Regions from separate parts of the Homo sapiens genome. Here region 1 is linked to region 2. Evidence: promoter capture Hi-C in human tissues and cell types (Jung and others, 2019). All regions are on one chromosome and are shown on one strand. Each heading gives the region's core, a stretch centred on a gene start or on the middle of the fragment in contact. The rest is flanking DNA. Distances are from core to core; before and after follow the strand shown. Region 1 overlaps TSPEAR (thrombospondin type laminin G domain and EAR repeats). Region 2 holds the start of KRTAP10-1 (keratin associated protein 10-1).

Region 1 (2,700 bases), core at 188-2,687, 38 kb before region 2:
CCAACCCACTCCACTGCCCATCTTTAACACACTTCCAAACAAATGGGGGAGAACCTGGCAGGGTTTTGCTTTGAGGACAAATCCCTTATAATGTTTATTCACACTGTTCATCTTTTCTTCTAAAAATTCATATTTATATCTTTTGTCCATTTTTCCAAATTTAAAGACACATTTTTTATTAGTTTGTAAGGGTTGGTTTTCTGTCGTGTGTGTGGTAAAGAGTTTGTCTTTTGCTTTTGAATAGGATGTCTGTTTCCATAGAAAGCTTTTAACACAGGTGGTCGACCCAGTGCCTTTCCTTCTGGGCTTGTCTTCTTCATAGAACCCTGAGGTTATACAACTGCCTTCAGCTTTTCTTCTTTTTCACATTTGGACTTTTAATCCATATAACATTTATTTTTGTGTACAATGTGAAGTGGGGGTAAGCTTTGTTTTCTTCCAGATTACATGAAGCTAATCTCCCGAATCATATGGAGTTATCAAGTAAAACCCATCCTTTTCTCATTGCCTTCAAATATAGCATTTATGGCCGGGCGGGGTGGCTTACGCCTATAATCTCAGCACTTTGGGAGGCTGAGGCGGGCAGATCACTTGAGGTCAGGAGTTCGAGAACAGCCTGGCCAACATAGTGAAACCCCATCTCTATTAAAAATACAAAAATTAGCCAGGCATGGGCTAGGCGCAGTGGCTCATGCCTGTAATCCCAGCACTTTGGGAGGCCGAGGCGGGCAGATCACAAGGTCAGGAGATCGAGACCATCCTGGCTAACACAGTGAAACCCCATCTCTACTAAAAAATACAAAACAATTAGCCAGGTGTGGTGGCAGGTGCCTGTAGTCCCAGCTACTCAGGAGGCTGAAGCAAGAGAATGGCGTGAACCCAGGAGGCGGAGCTTGCAGTGTGCCGAGACTGGGCCACTGCACTCCAGCTTGGGCGACAAAGCGAGACTCCATCTCCAAAAAGAAAAAATAAAATTAGCCAGGCATGGTTGGCCCATGCCTGTGGTCCCAGCGACTAGGGAGGCTGAGGTGGGAGGATTGCTTGAGCCTGGGAATTTCAGCCTGCAATGAGCTGAGGTTATGCCACTGCACTTCAGCCTGGGCTACAGAGTGAGACCCTGTCCCCCCCAAAAAATAAATAAGAAGGAGATATTATTAAAAAGGTACCCAGGCCCAGATGGCTTTATAACTGAATTTAACCCAGCTGTCAGAAATGAGAGAAAAAATCCTATTCTTCAGACTATCCCAGTCCACAGGTGCAGTTAGAAAGCCCTGCAGTGTGTATTTACTGTTAGGCTTCATTTTAAACTGGATAAAGTTAAGTCCCCAAAAGAAAACCACCGAGCAATCTAATTTCCTATTATAGATGCTAAAAGCTTAAAGACAGGCAATTGGAAGCCAGTGGCTTATTCAATAATTCTGCATCATCACCAAGTGGCATCGGGTCTAATAACGCGAGGAGATGTCTCACTATAAATCATGACATCAACAGTAAACATAGTGGACCGCACCACGCACTCACAGATGCCAAAGGAGACCTCAGCCCTGGCCCGGATGGCCCACAGCCCATCAAACGGCCATGCTCAGATGTGCTCGTTAAATTAGAGCAAGGTGGGACAGCTGCCACTTCTGCCGCCATCCAAGATTGTTCTGGAATCTTTAGCTAGGGAAGCAAGCTACATAATCAATTAGAACACTAGAAATCAAGGGGAAATGTTCTTTATTCTCAGAGGTAATTACATTCCTAAGTCCCCTGAGAATCTTTTTAAGAAAAGCTATTAGAACTGATTGGTTAGGGGGCGAGAAAATGATTGTCATGATGAGCAGCTGCAAATGAAAGTTAAAAAGCCAACCCCATTCGTTAAACGTACGATACTTGGAAAACTCCTGGAAATAAATGAGAACACCACAGTGTCTATGAGAGAAAAATTAAATATCAACAACTCCCATGTTAGGATGTCCACACGCCGCATCCCTGACAGAATCCAAAGGCAGAAGCACCAGCACTCGTGGGTTGTGGCTACACCCGGGGCAGGGCCCCAGCTCAGATCCCACACGGGTGCAGCCAGCGCCGGGCCATCCACTGGGCCCAGCCAATCTCGGAAATGACACCTGACTTGGGACTCGCTGTGAGCCGGTGGCACCTGCGAGAGAAGGTGAGCCCCCGGGGGGAAGCAAGGCTCTGGGAGGAGGCCGGCCTCGGTGAGCCCTTGGGGGGAAGCAAGGCTCTGGGAGGAGGCCGGCCTCGGTGAGCCCTCGGGGAAGTAAGGCGCTGGGAGGAAGCTGGCCTCAGTGAGCCCTCGGGGAAGCAAGGCTCTGGGAGGAAGCTGGCCTCGGTGAGCCCACAGTGGGGAAGCAAGGTGCTGGGAGGAAGCCGGCCTCGGTGAGCCCTCGGGGGGAAGCAAGGCTCTGGGAGGAAGCTGGCCTCGGTGAGCCCTCAGGGGGAAGCAAGACTCTGGGAGGAGGCCGGCCTCGGTGAGTCCTCGGGGGGAAGCAAGGCTCTGGGAGGAGGCCGGCCTCGGTGAGCCCTTGGGTGGAAGCCGGCCTTGGTGAGCCCACAGGGGGGAAGCAAGGCGCTGGGAGGAGGCCGGCCTTGGTGAGCCCACGGGGGGAAGCAGTGTGCTGGGAGGAAGCTGGCCTCGGTGAGCCCTCGGGGGGAAGCAAGGCTCTGGGAGGAGGCCGGCCTTGGTGAGCCCTCGGG
Region 2 (2,700 bases), core at 38-2,537:
AATAATCATGGCTGGAGGAGACCAATGTCAGCTCAAAACCATGTGTCCCCCAGGAACACAACAGAAAAGAGAATCAGGTGACCAAGGAGAGTTTATTGGGGAGCAGGAGGAGGTGCTGAGAGGTTCAAGTCGAGGCCAAGTGACCCAGAGCAGAGAAGCTGGGAGGGAGGACAGGGGACCTAGCAGGCAGGTGGGCACCTGCTGGAAGGCAAGAGCTGGGGAGCTGCAAGGATGGAGGCTCCTGGGAGCAAGGAGGGGGGGTCACCTCAGCACAGGGGAGACACGGGGACCCGTCCTAGGTGGGGGAAGCCACCTAACCCAGGTCAGGAACTGAGCCCAGCTGGCCCAGGGCGGGTGCCCATCAGCAGCTGGACTCCTGGCCTGAGCAGAGGCCTCAGCAGGCCGGGCGGGAGCACGCGGGGCGGCAGAGGAGGGACACGCAGGAGGCCGGGCGGCAGCAGCTGGCCTGGCAGGAGGAGGCAGGGGCACAGCAGGAGGAGACAGGCATACAGCAGGCGGGCCGGCATACAGGGCGGCAGAGGAGGGACACGGAGGAGGAGGGTCTGCAGCAGGAGGTGGTGCAGCAAGCCGGCTGGCAGCTAGACTGCTGGCAGCATGAAGTGGAAGCCCCAGAGCAGACGGGCACACAGCAGATGGGCTTGCAGCAGACAGGCTTGCAACGGACGGGCACGCAGCAGGCCTGCTGGCAGGGGGAGGAGGTGCAGCAAGCTGGATGGCAGCTAGACTGCTGGCAGCATGAAGAGGAATCCTCAGAGCAGGTGGGCACATAGCACACAGGCTTGCAGCAAACAGGCACACAGCAGGACTGCTGGCTGGAGGAAGAGGCACAGCAAGTTGGCTGGCAGCTAGACTGCTGGCAGCATGAAGAGGAATCCTTAGAGCAGGTGGGCAGGCAGCACACAGGCTTGCAGCAGACGGGCACGCAGCAGGCCTGCTGGCAGGGGGAGGAGGTGCAGCAAGCCGGCTGGCAGCTAGACTGCTGGCAGCACGAGGGCGTGCAGGAGCTGGTGCAGCCTGATTGGCAGGGGCTGGGCTCACAGGCTGCCTGGCAGCAGGGGCTGGACACACGGCTCACTGGGGTGCAGACCAGGGTCAGGCAGGGGGCCGGGGCGCAGCAGCTGAGGGCGCAGCAGTGGGGCTCACAGCAGCTCTCTGGGCAGGCATCCACCTGCCAGGAGTCGGAGCAAGCGCTGGAGCAGACGGACATGGTGGACGCGGCCATGCTGGGGTGGGGAGGAGGTGAGCTGCGGGAGGTGTGAGTGAGTGAGTGTGGGAGTCAGTGTGTGTGTGAGTGACTGAGTGTGTGAGTGAGTGTGTGAGCTTCGTGGGGCTCTGCTTTTATACCCCTTCTGGCCTTGTTGTTCCAGGGCCCACAGCGTCCCCTTCCTGGTTGCTGAGAGGTGGCGTGTGTCATGACTAGGGATGTTTGTTTGCCTGTGATGTGGCCCAGGTCATAAATCTCCTGTCCTGTCTGGGCTGTAGCCTGTCCCATGTGGATCCCTGGGGGCAAGAGTGGAGGTGGACCTGGTCCCAGCACGCCACCAGTGCAGTCCGGGTTGTAAGAAGGGGGCTGCGGAGGCAGGGGTGGCCCTTCAGCCTTATGCAAAGTGTGGCATGCCAGGGTGAGAGCTGTCCCACTCACGATCGTGGGGGCGTCTCCTCCCTAAAGCGGGTCCTCACTGAAGAGGCAGAAGCAGCTGGTAGAAGCACAGGATCACTGGAGCAGCCGGAGAGAAGGTGCAGCAGTGGCCAGCGAACCCCACAGTGGTGGCCCTGCACATTCCTTCCCCCATCCCCATCACTGAAGAAATTAGAGCCCCAAACAGGGAGAAGGGGAGCAAGGAAGGAGAGGCCATGCCCCTCCCCACGGCCTTCCCCGAGGTCCACTCAGACGTTGGTGTGGGAACGCTGGGGATAGGACTGGGTTTCGGACAGGAAAGAAAAGTTTTGAACTGGCCCATGGATTTGGTTCTGCTCTTAAAGGCCATAGCTTTATGATGTGCTTCAACCATAGATAACTCAAGTCCCGTTATCAATATTCTTAAATTTATTTTTTTTTTTTTTTGTACAGATGGCGTCTCAAGTGATCCCTCCTGCCTTGGCCAAAGTACTGGGATTGCAGGCGTGAGCCCGGTGCCTGGCCATCATCAGTATTTCTGCACCACGTGTCTTCCCTGTTCCTGTTCATTGTCCTTGCTGTCCTCAGCTTCCTTTCTTCAAACGTAAGCTGCATGTGAGCAGGGAGTGTGTTTGTCTTGTTCACCACTCAGTCTTCAAAGGCCTAAAATCATGCCTGGCCCAAGGAAAAGCCTTTATAAAAATGGGCTGAAATAATAAACTTTTTTGGAGAAATTATTGAAGAGTAATTTTGAGCTCTGAACGCGATTCCATTGTGCCACCTTTTTCTTATGCTGTATAAAATGCTCTGTCAAGTTCTCCTTTCGTGTGTGGGGAACTGGCTTACATCAGACTGGCCATCTAGCTGAGAAATATTAGGAAATCTGGTTTACAAACAAAATCTCTGTTCGAAGGGGCCGGGAGGTATCAAGACAGCTGAGACTTGAGTGAGTGAATCCGCATTAGAGAGAAACTGCACAGAAGTGAGTCCAATATTCCTTGTGGATTTTCTTACTGAGGCATTTACCAATTTACAGACCACAGCCAAGAGGCCGAGAGCCT

Evidence for each region. The method cuts DNA at HindIII sites, captures the fragments that hold promoters and counts their contacts. A contact is called where the count stands out against the background at its distance.
Region 1: a contact is called between a fragment that was not itself captured here and the fragment with the promoter of KRTAP10-1 in region 2, in 2 of the 25 tissues and cell types used here (lymphoblastoid cells and mesendoderm cells).

Annotation. Positions count from the first base shown.
Region 1 is chr21:44,500,641-44,503,340 of GRCh38, forward strand. The region is part of intron 11 of TSPEAR (thrombospondin type laminin G domain and EAR repeats); the gene reads right to left. Among named protein-coding and RNA genes, the nearest start is that of TSPEAR-AS1, 4.1 kb to the right of the region's middle. RefSeq lists an enhancer at 2,522-2,700. The HindIII fragment of the contact is 6,330 bases long and covers 1-2,700 here.
Region 2 is chr21:44,538,908-44,541,607 of GRCh38, forward strand. KRTAP10-1 (keratin associated protein 10-1) reads right to left here and starts at 1,288. Exons shown (of 1, transcript NM_198691.3): 1 at 74-1,288. The coding sequence starts at 1,243. The coding sequence ends at 395. All of the region lies in intron 2 of TSPEAR (thrombospondin type laminin G domain and EAR repeats), which reads right to left. RefSeq lists an enhancer at 26-690. The HindIII fragment of the contact is 21,448 bases long and covers 1-2,700 here.